Linked DNA regions of Homo sapiens: region 1 is linked to region 2. The links are contacts of gene promoters, found by promoter capture Hi-C in human tissues and cell types (Jung and others, 2019). All regions are on one chromosome and are shown on one strand. Each heading gives the region's core, a stretch centred on a gene start or on the middle of the fragment in contact. The rest is flanking DNA. Distances are from core to core; before and after follow the strand shown.

Region 1 (7,597 bases), core at 3,854-6,353, 470 kb before region 2:
AATAGAGATGGGGTTTCACCATGTTAGCCAGGCTGGTCTCGAACTCTGTCCTCAGGTGATTCCCCCGCCTCGGCCTCTCAAAGTGCTGGGATTACAGGCATGAGCCACTGTGCCCGGCCATGATTTTGTTTTAGGAAATAAATTTAGCCAGCTGTGGTGGCTCATGCCTGTAATCCCAGCACTTGGGAAGTCTAAGGCGGGAGGATGGCTTGAGCCCAGGAGTTCGAGACCAGCCTGGGCAATAGAGTGAGATCCTGTCTCTACAAAAATTTAAAAGTTAGGCATGGTGGTGCACGCCTGTAGTTCCAGCTACTCAAGAAGCTGAGGTGGGAGGATCACTTGAGCCCACAAGTTCAAGACTGCAGTGAACCATGATTGTGCCACTGCACTCCAGCCTGGGCAATAGAGTGAGATCCTGTCAAAAAAAAAAAAAAAAAAAGCTGGGTGTGGTGGCTCATGCCTATAAACCCAGCACTTTGGAAGGCCAAGGTGGGCAGATCACCTGAGGTCAGAAGTTCAAGACTAGCCTGGGCAACATGGCCAAACCCTGTTTCTACTCAAAATACAAAAATTACCTGGGCCAGACATGGTGGGTCACGCCTGTAATCTGAGCACTTTGGGAGGCCAAGGTGGGTGGATCACTTGAGGTCAGGAGTTCAAGACCAGCCAGGGCAACATGGCAAAACCCTGACTTTAAAAAAAAATACAGCTGGGCGCAGTGGCTCATGCCTGTAATCCCAGTACTTTACGATGCCAAGGTGGGTAGATCACAAGGTCAAGAGATCAAGACCATCCTGGCCAACATGGTGAAACCCTGTCTCTACTAAAAATACAAAAATTAGCTGGGCGTGGTGGCACGCACCTGTAATCCTAGCTACTCGGGAGGCTGAGGCAGGAGAATTGCTTGAACCCAGGAGGCATAGGTTGCAATGAGCCGAGATTGTGCCACTGCACTCCAGCCCAATGACAGAACGAGACTCCGTCTAAAAAAAAAAAAACACACACAAAAATTCGCAGGGCGTGGAAGCATTCACCTGTAGTCCCAGCTACTCAGGAGGCTGAGGTGGGAGAATCGCTTGGGCCTGGGAGGTGGAGGTTGCAGTGAGCCGAGATAGTGCCACCGCACTCCAGCTTGGGTGACCCTGTCTTAAAAAAAAAAAAGTCTGGGCGCGGTGGCTCATGCCTGTAATCCCAGCACTTTGGGAGGCCCAGACGGGCAGATCACAAGGTCAGGAGATCGAGACCATCCTGGCTAACATGGTGAAACCCCATCTCTACTAATACAAAAAATTAGCCGGGTGTGGTGGCAGCCGCCTGTGGTCCCAGCTACTCGGGAGGCTGAGGCAGGAGAATGGCGTGAAACCGGGAGGCAGAGCTTGCAGTGAGCCGAGATCCCGCCAACTGCATTCCAGCCTGGGCGACAGCAAGACTCCATCTCAAAAAAAAAAAAAAAAAGAGGAAAAGAAAAGAGATAAACCTATTATAGCTACAGAAGAGGTATTTTCAAGATGCTATGGGAGTTGAGAACAAAAATTGACATAGTATGGGAAGGCGATAGCCTGGGTAGGTGATAGTCTGGGAAGGCGATAGTCTGGGTAGGTGGTAGTCTGGGAAAGTCCCACTGGAAAGAATGGCGAAGGATGAGTGTGAGCTTGCCGTGAGGAGAAGCGGAGGGCAGGCTTTCCAGATGGAGGGAGGGGTATGTGTAAGGATGCAGCGGTAGAAAGAACAAGGTGTTTACAGAGTGGCTGGTGGGCAGAGGGTCCAGAGGGAACAGTGGAAGCTGTGGCTGGACGCGGAGCCTAGAGGAGGACCCACCAGAAAGAAAGGCCAAGTATAAGGTCCTAATTTCAGAAAGCTCCAGCAGGCTTAGGCAACATCACCTCCGGGACCTCTGGGGTCAGGTATTCCAGTGATGATGCTGGGAGTGAGGGATGAGGGATCAGATAAGGAGCTGCATGTGAGAAGTGGGCCTAGCAGGACCCTCCTGAACCTTCTCTGCTGAGGCCTCTAAGAAGCTTTAGGGATTGAATGTTGCACCCTCCACTGTCTGCACCCTGAGGACAAAAGCCATGACTTAGCAGGCCTGACTCGGAGGAGATGCTCAGTAAGTGTTTCCCAACTGACAGTGGACAGAGGTGAGCCCTGCAGGGGCAGGAACCACGTCTTGCTCATCAATCTCCCTTATAGTGCCTGACACAGAACAGATATACAGCAGGACAGCGCAGAGGGGCTGCTGCTGGGGCCTGTCCCTAACCCTGTGCTGACCTCTGCACAATCCTGTGACCTCCACAAAGCTTCTAGGCCCCCTTCACGGAGCAAGATTTGGGGCCTGACTAGAGCCTGGCCATGGCTGTCCCGAGGCCTATCATATAGCCAGGTATGCCAGAAGGACTTGGGAAGATGGGGTCTTCCTGCTCCGGACTCTGATTAGTGTTCCTGGTAGCTCAGGGCCCCAGGCCTTCCTCCTTGGTCCACATGCAGGCTTGAAGCTCGTGTGGAATCAGTGCCTTTGGGCCAATGAAAAGCTGATCCTGGCATCACTCACTCACTTGGTCAATGGCTAATTCCCATTATATACGACAAGAGCATAATGTAAAGTACATTGTCTCTTATTACTTCATTCTGGGTTCCCTAGATTGGAACTCTGTTTTCAAACTCAAGAGAACAATAGAACCATCCAGAGAGCCTGTCCAAGAAGCAGATTTCTGACCTCTGCCCCCAAAAGTCTGATTCAGTTAGGTCTGCGGTAGGGCCTACAAGTCTACAGTGTCAACAAGTTCCCCTGATGAGTCCTGTACACTCAAGTCTGAGAACCACTGTTCTATGACGTCACTTGGGCCCCTAGAGTCACTGTGGTGTCAAACCACAGTATAAAAGTTTACACTGTGACGCAGGACACACCTTATACAAAATCTGAAACAAAAGTTTTATGACGCAATGTTTACCCCAACCATGGTCATGTTCTCTGCTCAATTTCACTACAAACACGCACTGGTCCAGACGCACTAAATTAGTGGGTTCCGACCCTGGCTACCCATCAGAATCACCTGGGCAGCTTTTACAGTGTGCAGGCCACATCCCTGACCAGTGAGATCAGAAACCCTGGAGGTGGGGTACAGGCATCAGTGTTGATTTATTGAATTTATTTATTTATTTGAGACAGGGTCTTGGTCTGTCACCCAGGCTGGAGTCCAGTGGTGTGATCATAGCTCACTGCAGCATCGACTTCTTGGGCTTAAGTGATCCTCCTGCCTCAGCCTCCCAAGTAGCTTAGACAACACGCACATGCCACCACACCTAGCTAACTTAAAAAAAAATTTTTTTTTTTTAAGAGATGGGGGTCTCCCTTTGTTGCCCAGACTGGTTTTGAACTCCTGGACTCAAGTGATCCTCCTGCCTTGGCCTCACAATGTGCTGGGATTACAGGTGTGAGACACTGCACCTGGCCCCTAAACTGATTTCTTGACCCACAAATCAACCATGACCCGCAGGAAAATTTTACCTTTCCTGGAAAATTGGCAAATTTCTTCTTTCTTTTCTCCTCCCCCAACTAACATTTTTCATCTTCCTCTTTGATAACAATAGCTGCATCCTGATCCATCTCCTTTTGGAATTGACTATGGGGACCTGGAGACCTTAGTCCCGGTAATTATGAGGATTTTTTTTTTTTTTTTGAGACATAGTCTCGCTTTGTCACCCAGGCTGGAGTGCAGTGGTGCGATCTCGTCTCACTGCAACCTCCACCTCCAGGTTCAAGCAATTCTCTAGCCTTAGCCTCCTGAGTAGCTGGGATTACAGGCACCTGCCACCATGCCCGGCTAATTTTTTTGTATTTTTAGTACAGATGGGGTTTCGCCATGTTGGCCAAGCTGGTCTCAAACTCCTGACCTCAGGTGAGGCCTTATGTGGATCTTATGAGTCTTTAAAGATCTTCATGGATCCCGCTGGGCGCGGTGGCTCATGCCTGTATCCTAGCACTTTGGGAGGCCAAGGTGGGCGGATTATCTGAGGGTCAGGAGTTTGAGACCAGCCTGGCCAACATGGCAAAACCCCGTTTCTACTAAAAATACAAAAAAAAAAAAATAGTCCGGTGCAGTGCCTTACTCCTGTAATCCCAGCACTTTGGGAGGCCGAGGTGGGTGGATCATCTGAGGTCAGGAGTTTGAGATCAGCCTGGCCAACATGATGAAACCCTGTCTCTACTAAAAACACAAAAATTAGTTGGGCATGGTGGCATGTGCCTGTCATCCCAGCTACTCAGGAGGTTGAAGCAGGAGACTCGCTTGAACCCAGGACGTGGAGGTTGCAGTGAACCGAGATCGCACCACTGCACTCCAGCATAGGCAACAGAGTGAGACTCTGTCTCAAAAAAGTATAATAATTATCCCGGTGTGGTAGCACTCGCCTGTAATCCCAGCTACCAGGGAGGCTGAGGCATGACAATCACTTGAACCCAGGAGGCAGAGGCTGCACTGAGCCAAAATGTGCCACTTCACGCCAGCCTGGGCGACACAGTGAGACTCTGTCTCAAAAAAAAAAAAAAAGTCTCCATACGGCTTTCTCTTCTCACTCACAGAGTTTTCTCTTTGCATCTGTGTCTTTTTAGGTAAGGGGCAGAGTGGCCATAAGGGCCAGCCACTATATTCTTGGGGCTGACCCAGGCCAGAGAATGGGCCAGGGGAGGGGAGCTGAGCACTGAGCACTTCCTGTGGCTTCTGAAGCTCCAGGGGACAGTCTGCAGTGGGGCCCTGCTCCACTCCGCAACGCTGCTGTGGTTTCCTGTTTGCAGCTGCTGTGCTGGGCTGGCCTCCCCAGCCCCTCTACCAGCCTATGGATGTATGTGAGGTGGGGGTGCTGATGCTGCCTAGAAAATAGCAGGAGGGGCCTCAGAGAGGTCAACCCAAGAACGCCCAAGGGCAGGAGAGGAGAGACAAAGAAGCTGGAAAGGGTCCTGGGAGGGAGACTGAGGCAGAGAACGAAGGGTCCCGACAGCCTATCACAGTTGGTTCATATCAAGGCGGGCGCCAGGAGGTCTGTCCATTCCTGATACCTCCTTCCCTGGTCTGTTGCTATGCTTGCAGTGCCAACATTACTGCCCCACGTGGGCCTTTCTTGGGGGCCTGGAGTGAGAGGAGGTGTGGCTGGGTTTGAATCCTGGCTCTGCACTTACTAGCTGTGTTTCCCCAGGCAAATTATTTCTCTTCCCTAAGCCTCAGTTTTTCCATCTGTAAAATGAAGACAATGGAAGTACAATCCCCATACATTGTTTTAAGTCACTTAAAGGGCTTAACATAAACGTGGGGGCTGCTGCTCCTTCAACATCCCTCTTTGCCTCTGCCTTAAAGGACTCAGGGGCAGCAGCTCAGAGGGAGGCAGGGTCATCAAAGAGACAATCAACTTTGTGTTTTGATTGCAAAAGACCCTGCACCTGGGGTGGGAGAAGCCCCACATGAATGTGCATGTGGCCCGTTCCTACTCCTCTTTGGTCCAGTTTTTCAGTCTGTACAGTGGAGCGAGGAGGATCCATGAGATGACTTCCAGTGGGTTTCTAGCTCTGACTGGCTACTGACCCAAGAGATCCTGTCACCATTTTAATGTTTTGCCAAGAGATCAGAATCATGTTGTGTCTTGGGGAAGGAGGAATCACCTCCTAGTCAACGCAGAGAAATTCTGTGACTATACTCTATTAAAAATCCTAGTTGCCAATGTGTTGGCTGAGCCTAGATCCCTACTGTGGGCCATTCACATTCACTTTTATTTTTTGAAATGGAGTCTGGCTCTGTTGCCCAGGCTGGAGTGCAGTGGTGCAATCATGGCTCACTGCACCCTGGAACTCCTGGACTTAAGTGATCCTCCCACTTCAGCCTCCGAAGTAGCTCGGACTACAGGGATGCACCACCATGCCTCACTACATTTTAAATTTTTTTGTAGAGAAGTGGTCTCATTATGTTGGCTAGGCTGGTCTCAAATTTCTGGGCACAAGTGATTCTCCCACCTCAGCCTCCCAAAGTGCTGGGATTACAGGTGTGAGCCACAGTGCCCGGCCTGTATTATTTTTAGAAATGCAGATTTTTGCTCTATTGCTGATAGGCTCTCATGGCAGCAACATGGCAGATGACAGCCAGACTGCTAGACACCAAGGCTAGGAACTCCAGCCCTTCACATTTGGCCTTCTGCCCCACCCTCAAGTCATATCACACTTGGCTCTTGGCATTGGAGGGGCAAGCCCTGGCATCACTGTGGATCTCAAATAGAGGTATGTTTCCCAAACTCTGTGCCATGGAACACTGGCTTCCAGTGACCCAGGAGCTCCCTGAGAGCAGGGACCATGGCCACCTCACTCAGCAGAGATGCCTAAGGCCTGACACATACAGTAGGTCCTGTCCTTCCCTGAAGCCTCCCCACATCATAGGTGCTGGAGAAGCATTTGCTGAATGAATGAACATGGAGTGACTCTGACTGGTGCTGCATGATGAAACACTCCTGTGTCAGAAACACTTGGGAAATGCCCAGTTAGGCAAACGCGACGCCTTAAGAAGTCTTGTGTTAACACGGATTGTGAACCTCTCAGAGAAGGATACGATTTTCGGGGTCCCCTAAACTGACCCCCCATCTCCTCTACTTCTAAGCAGGTGGCCCACAGAACACACTCAGAGAGTCCCTGTAATGCATCCTCTCGTTTCCCCCAAAACACACGCCCAGCACTGTGTCTCTGCTGAGTAGCAACCCCACTGCCTTGGGAGAAAACCAAAGCTTCTCAGCTCGGCATCCAAGGCCTCTGTGCTGGAGCTTGCTCACTTCTAACCTCCTATTGTCCCGAGGTGCAGCCCACTGGCCCACCCCAGCACCACTGTGTCTTGTTGCCTGGGATCCTGTGGGAACATCCCTCAGGATCCCAGGTCCACTCCTCCAGGTCCACTCATGGTCTATTCCTCCATGAAGCCTCCCTTGATTGCTCCAAAGTTAGCTGCCTCTCCTCTGCTTTCATGGCCTGTCTCCATCTCCCCCAGCCTGGGCTCCACATGGTTCATATGGGCAGGACACGGAGCTGGGGCTCAGGAAATCTTGGTTGACTGAGAAGTCAGGCAAAGCCTATTTTCTGGGCCGCACCTGCAGCCATATATCTGTGGGCTCCTTTCTGAGACCTCCACGTAGGGAGGGCCTGGGCTGGCACCGAGCTTACTCACCTCTCCTGGTCTGGCTCTCCCGGATGAGGAAGGCCCCTCCAGGGTTCCCAGGTAACAACAGCAGTTCCTCTGCTTTCTCCCTGCTCAGGCCCTCATACAGCCACCTGGCGGAGCGAAAGAGAGGGACAAGGGACAGGGTCAGCCTGGAGGAAGAGGGAAGCCAAGATTTTACCACCACCGCTGAGTGACCCTCACAAGGCCCTCCCTCTCTGGGCCTCAGAGTTCTATCTGCTCCACGAAGAGCTGGGCTCAGGGTCTCCGAGGTCCATGCCATTTTTGTCCTCCCAGTCCTGGCTCCAGGGCCCTGGGAGGACAAACTCATGGGGACAGCCTCAGCTTTCTCTGCCTGGAGACCTCATTCCCCCAAGTAACCTGGGTTGGTCCCAGCCTCTCTGCTATCCCTGCTC
Region 2 (6,850 bases), core at 994-3,493:
GCCTCAGCCTCCTGAGTAGCTGGGATTACAAGTGCACGTCACCATGCTCAGCTAATTTTATATTTTTAGTAGAGACGGGGTTTCACCATGCTGGCCAGGCTGGTCTTGGACCCCTGACCTAAGGTGATCTGCCCACCTCAGCCTCCCAAAGTGGTGGGATTACAGGTGTGAGCCACCGTGCGCCCGGCCAAGACCCTGTTTCTAAGGAAGAAAAAAAGAAAGAAAAAATAAATAAGTAGAGCAAACATTGAAGATGTCCTATTCAACTCTGCCTAACTAGAGATTTAGCTCTCAACTTTTCCTGGTGTTGGGGGTGAGGGGAAATATTCCAGGCAGAGGGAATGGCATGGATATACCACAAAACTGGGAACAAACTTGTCATATTCAAGAATCTGAAACAGGTGCATGCCTTGACCATAGTTTGACACAGTAAATGCTTATTCAATGACAGATGGTGTGACCTTGGGCAAGAGAGACCAAATCAGACCTAGGATGTCAGAAATGCTTTCTCAGGCTTTCAAAAATCAATCTGTTTTCAATTGAGACGCCATTCATTCTAATCTCCCTTACTTTCTTATTCTTCCCACAGCTCTCCAGTCATGCCACCCACGGATGTGGACCATTGTCCTTTACCCAGTCTATCCAGTTCTGAAGACACTTTTTTCAGGTACTACTCCTTCATATATAGGCACACATACAATCGACACTTTTCCAACTCTATGCCTTTGAACCCAGCAATTATTTCACTGGGTGGTGAGTCAGTGGTGCACCCTGGGAGTGGGTCCAGCGCCCTTGGCACATGAAAGCCTTTGAACATGAGGCCAGTGGTGCTACATGAAATACACTCCATCACAATTCTGTCTACACTGGGCTTATGCTCGTCTGGGTTTCTTTCTCTGTTTTTAGATAGAGTCTTGCTGTCACCCAGGCTGGAGTGCAGTGGTGTGATCTCCACTCACTGCGGCCTATGCCTCCTGGGTTTAAGCAATTCTCCTGCCTCAGCCTCCCGAGTAGCTAGATTACAGGCAGGCGCCACCACACCCAGCTAGTTTTTGTATTTTTTTAGTAGAGATGGGGTTTCGCCGTGTTGCCCAGGTTAGTCTCGAACTCCTGGCCTCAAGTGATCCGCCCGCCTTGGCCTCCCAAAGTGCTGGGATTATAGGCGTGAGCCGCCACGCCCAGCCTGGGTTTCTATATTAGAATAATCCTAGGCAAGACAACCTTCTGAGCCTTGCCATTATCACCTGGAAAGCAGTCTAATACTCATTGCCATGCCATGTTCACAGGGCTGTTGCGAGGATAAAATGCAAGAATGATGGGGAAAAAAATCAAGTAATTATAACTGACATTTGTTTTATTCAGAGCCAGACACTGATGCAAAGCATCAGGACGATGCTCTGACGGAGGAGGAAACGTAGGGCTGAGATCAGCTTCGTGTGCACATTGGCTTTGATCAAACTGCTGCACAGCGACCGGCAGCTCCACCCTGGTGAAGCAGAGGGTGGAGGTTAAACGGCTCAGACCCTGGGTCTGGCTCCATCTCTAACCGTGTGACCTTGGGCCTGTAGCTTAACCCGTCTAGGGCTCCGCTTCCTCTTGCGTGAAATGGGGATCACAGAAGGGGTTCAGACGGAACTGAGGGTCCATTTAAAGCTCTGGGCAGTGATGTCTTGGCATGCAGTTCATTTTCACTTTACCATTATATTTGTTCTTACTGATTTAAGGGCAGCACCATGACTTTTGTGGCGCTTGGCGGGGTAGAGGGAAGTGTGGTCAGGAAGCCTGGGGTCTGAGCGGCGCGGGACCTAGGCCGCTCCTTTCCTGAGCTTCAGTTTCCCGCCTCAAAATGATGGGTGGATTGGCTGAGCTACACCCACCTTTCCCGCCCCTCGGCGCTTGGCTGCGCAGCGACCCTCCTAGGTGGGGAAACTCCCACCACCCCATAGGCCGAGGAAGGGGCGGGGCAGGGGTGGGGCCTGGCGAGGGTAGGGTCCGGCCGCCCCACCTGCTGCCGCTCACCTCTAGGCTGTAGTTGCCTCGGATGGCAGTAAAGTCGTCCAGGGCTTCGGCCGCGCTCCCCTCGTCCAGGTTCAGCTCCTGGCACAGGGCCTGTAGCGCCTCCCCGGCTGCGGCGACCACCGCCGCCCCCTCAGCGTGGGGCTTGTCCTCGAACATCCCTTCAGGCCCCGCGGGCTGCGCGCCACGGCCCCCGACTTCTTTCTCCCTCCCAGGCGCGCTACCCACAACCACCTGCGCCAAAGCGCGCGAAAATCTGCAGCTGCGGGACGTGTTGTCATCCACCGTCTGCCTCCGCTTTTCTCCTCAAAAAAAGTCCGTTTTTCCTCCGGAGCTCCTAGCAGTCCCTCCCCGGAAATGTGATAAGAAGATGTACCTCAGATTCTGAAAGACCTGTCCTTGGCCCTTGGCTGGTCGCGGGGGGCCCAGCCGGCGGGACAGAAAAAGAGCGGAGGGATCCTCAGCCCGCGCGCAGAGCCTGCTGGGAGGTGTAGTCCATCTCTTGGGAGATGAAGCCCGCGGCCTCCCCCTGTCTTCCTGGTTAGGCTCTTGGGTTTTGGGGCAGGGCTGGGCTGCCTACTGCGAGGTGGCCTCGTGCAGCGTAGTGAGATGCCTCCTCTATCCACGGGCCCTGGGTTTGTCACTGTCCCTGGGCGCCAAACATAATCTGAGCTGTACCCCTTGAGTTAGGAGATGGAGGCTGGAAGAGAAAAAAGTAGCCCCTGGACGAAGAGGGGCCTCTTGGGACTCTCCCCAAAGTCCTAGTGCCCAGTGAGTGGTTCGCTAAATGACAGAGGGGAAGGATTGGTGACGGATATTAGAAGACGAATCCTCATCTCATGCTAGTCGCTAAAAGAGGCAGGCAGAGAAGACTGCAGTAAATGAGGCAGGAGAATAGGGTCTGGAGGCAGGGAACCTATGGCTGTTTCACGTGACTTCTTAGAACTAAATTGAAAGGAAAACCCCAACTTTCCACGCCTAAGTAACAAAAGAACCAGAGGCTGTTCCCTTGGACCTTTTCTGCATGGCAGATGGGAAATTGGCTGTCTGCAACAAATCACACTGAGCGCCTTCCAGTCTTTGTTTGCAACTTTGTAACTTCACTCCAGCCTCTGAACGGTTGCTGTCCACAACCAATCAGACTGATGGCGGGAGAGTCTTCCTTTGCATAGAAGTATAATTTTGTTAACTTCACCCTGGCCTCTGATTGGTTGCTTTCTGCAACCACTCAGACTGATTGTGGGCTACCACTTCAGTTACATCAAGAGAGCATAAAGTGGCCAATGGGAAACTTCTAGAGGGTATTTGGACCCCAGAAGATTCTGTGTCTGGGCCCTTGAGCTGCTGCGTGGGTTCGCTTCCCCACTATGGAGTGTACTTTTGTTTTCAATAAATCCCTGTCTTCGTTCTTTTGTTGTTCCATTATTTGCTTTGCCTGTAATCCCAGTACTTTGGGAGGCCGAGGCAGGTGGATCACTTGAGTCCAGGAGTTTGAGACCAGTCAGGCCAACAAGGCAAAACCCCGTCACTACTAAAAATATAAAAATTAGCTGGGCGTGTGGGTGCACTTGTGTAATCCTAACAACCTGGGCAACTGAGACATGAGAATAAAGAATCGCTTGAACCGAGGAGGCAGAGGCTGTAGTAAGCCAAGATTGCACCACTGCACTCCAGTCTGGGTAACAGAGTGAGACTCTGTCTCAAAAACAAACAACTGAGGACACATCTGTCAAACCCAGCCTCACCTGCATGCATTTAAAAAAACCAAAAATCAATATGCCCTTCCTTATATTGGTTTTATTTTTTCTTATTATCCCAGGACATGCCCATTTAACCCAAAATTGAGCTTTTCTGAATAGAAAATGAAGTATGGAAGGCCGGTTGCAGTGGCTCACACCTGTAATCCCAGCACTTTGGGAGGCTGAGGCAGGCGGGTCACCAGATCAGGAGATCGAGATCATCCTGGCCAACATGGTGAAACCCCGTCTCTACTAAAAATACAAAAATTAGCTGGGCATGGTGGCGGGCGCTTGTAATCCCAGCTACTTGGCAGGCTGAGGTAGAAGAATCGCTGGAACCTGGGAGGCGGAGGTTGCAGTAAGCCAAGATCGTGCCACTGCACTCCAGCCTGGTGACAGAGCGAGACTCCGTCTCAAAAAAAAAAAAAAAAAAAAGAAAAAAGAAAATGAAGTATGGGTAGTGAAATAGATTTACTCTGCCCTTCAGTTTTGAGCCAGATACACATGAAGGTTGTTTCTATTTTGATCCCATTGTGTGATAGCCTCTATGATTAGCCTCCCTGTTGTGGTTTAATATTTCAGAGTTCTCCCAAAGCATGTGGTTGGAACCTGATTATGACCTTTAGGGATTCCAAGACTAAAAAGATTATAGTGTGTACCCTTCCAAATGTAATTCAAAATATATGCAATTCTAAATCACAAAATAAGTGTAAGAAAGTACAAGAAAGTTCTAACTAATTTTCCCAAGATGTCTCATTTTGAAATTCTTAAATTTTTTTTTCTTTTTTTGTCCTCCAGCTTTGCTATGCCCTAAGCAGAAAATCAGTCTGCACTTGCCCCTCTCAGGACAAACTGCTTGTCTAACCTTCTATTAAAAAAAAAAAAAAAAAAAAAAAAAGCAGTTGATATTTGTGGGGGAGGGGCAAGACCTGACCTCACCATTCTTTTTTTTTTTTTTTGAGACAGAGTCTCACTCTGTCACCCAGGCTGGAGTGCAGTGGCAAGATCTCAGCTCACTGCAACCTCTCCCTCCTAGGTTCAAGCAATTCTCCTTCCTCAGCCCCCCAAGTACCTGGGACTACAGGCACACGCCACCATGCCCGGCTAACTTTTTTTTTTGCATTTTTAGTAGAGACGGGGTTTCGCCATGATGGCCAGGCTGGTCTTGAACTCCTGACCTCAGGTGATGCACCCGCCTCAGCCTCCCAAAATGCTGGGATTATAGGCGTGAGCCACCATGCCCAGCTGGACCTCACCATTCTTAATGTTCTTTTTCCTTGGAGGAAAAACTAAAGTGGTGATCTTTAAGCTGGTTCTGCACTGTGGAAGTAGTGCATTACAAAGATTAATAAAGCCTCTCTACCCACAGAAGGGGGAAAGGATTTGCATACAATCTTAGAAAAGCAAATGTAAATGGCTTTTAGATGTGAAAAGATGCCCAACTTTCTTTCTTTCTATTTATTTATTTATTTATTTATTGAGACGGAGTCTCACTCTTGTTGCCCAGGCTAGAGTGCAATGGAGAGATCTCGGCTCACTGCAACCTCTGCCTCCTGGGATCAAGCAATTCTCCTGCCTCAGCCTCCCGAGTAGCTGGGACTATAGGCGTGTGCCACAACGCCAGGGTAATTTTTGTACTTTTTAGTAGAGACGGGGTTTCACCATGTTGGCACAATGGTCTCAATCTCTTGACCTCGTGATCCCACCCGCCTCGGCCTCCCAAAGTGCTGGGATTACAGGCGTGAACCACTGTGCCCGGCCCCAACCTTTCTAATAGGAAAAATATATATACAAGTTTAAACCGGTATAAAACCATATTTTAATCTATTCAATTGTCAAAAATCCAAAAGTTTGAAAATGTTCTAGTGACTCCCCATTTCTTTCAGGGTTAAGCCAAGCTCCTTGTCCTGGCCTACAAGGCACTAAGGGTCTGGTGGTCCCCTGTCTAACTCTGCCTTCATTTGCTACTCTCTCCTTTCTCACCCTACCGTAGTCATACTTGTGATTCCTTTTGGCTACCTTTTTTTCCTTTAATTTTGAAAAATGCAAACTCAATTTTTTATGTAGTTGTTAACCCCAATGTTTAAAAAAAGTAAAGCATTTCATCCAAATTACTAACTAAAAGATAATAGCTAAGAATACCTGAACCAGATATCAAAGAATTGGGGGTAATGGGGGCCGGGCATGGTGGCTCATGCCTGTAATCCCAGCACTTTGGGAGGCTGAGGTGGACAGATCACTTGAGGCCAGGAGTTCGAGGCCAGCCTGGCCAAAATGGCAAAACCCCGTCTCTACTAAAAATACAAAAATTAGCTGGGCGTGATGATGCTCGCCTGTAGTCCCAGCTACTTGGGAGGCTGAGGCAGGAGGAGAATCACTTGAACCGGGGAGGCAGAGGCTGCAGTAAGCCGAGATTGCGCCACTGCACTCTAGCCTGGGCAACAGAGCGAGACTCTGTCTCAAAAAAAAAAAAAAAAATGCAATTAACCATTAGATACTTCCATTCTTCACCTGCCAGTTTTTCCATTTCCTTTCTTCTTTCCCATATCACCTCCAAGATGTCCCTCCATTGCCCTAGATAGCTCAGCTCTGGCTCTCTGTGTATATTCTTCAACCAAACAAGAGCCTGAGAATCAGATTGATGGTGACTATTTCTAATTAGTCCAAATTAGTCCAGTGTGCCTCTTGGGGGCCTCCCACAATTCCACATGCAGCTTATAAAAGTGGTTGCCCAACACAAACTAATCTCTTTTCCCAGAAAATTTCTGCTTGTAAGAAATTTTTCTCCATTTATGCTTAAAGCAGACAGTGGGTACTCAACAAATAATAGTTCCTATCCTAGAGCCATTTGAGGATCTGACATCGGTTATAGGAGAGGGAATTATGAAAATGGAAAAAAGGGAGAAGGAGTGGAAAACTTGGATATATTGGGATAAATTTACCATTACACCAATTCAGAAGTTTTTTTCTTGCTTGGAGGTTTTTTCTTTTTCTTTTTTTTCAGACGGAGTCTCGCACTGTTGCCCGGGCTGGAGTGTAGTGGTGTGATCTCGGCTCACTGCAACCTCCACCTCCTGGGTTCAAGTGATTCTTCT

What was found. The method cuts DNA at HindIII sites, captures the fragments that hold promoters and counts their contacts. A contact is called where the count stands out against the background at its distance.
Region 1: a contact is called between a fragment that was not itself captured here and the fragment with the promoter of RBL1 in region 2, in 1 of the 25 tissues and cell types used here (small bowel).

What each region holds. Positions count from the first base shown.
Region 1 is chr20:36,625,405-36,633,001 of GRCh38, forward strand. SLA2 (Src like adaptor 2) reads right to left here. Exons shown (of 8, transcript NM_032214.4): 5 at 7,191-7,294. Among named protein-coding and RNA genes, the nearest start is that of SLA2, 17 kb to the right of the region's middle. RefSeq lists an enhancer at 4,833-4,942. The HindIII fragment of the contact is 5,892 bases long and covers 2,158-7,597 here.
Region 2 is chr20:37,093,754-37,100,603 of GRCh38, forward strand. It overlaps RBL1 (RB transcriptional corepressor like 1), which reads right to left and starts at 2,244. Exons shown (of 22, transcript NM_002895.5): 1 at 2,020-2,244. The coding sequence starts at 2,175. RefSeq lists enhancers at 1,603-1,702, 1,936-2,612, 2,263-2,532, 2,653-2,702 and a silencer at 1,973-2,032. The HindIII fragment of the contact is 15,633 bases long and covers 1-6,850 here.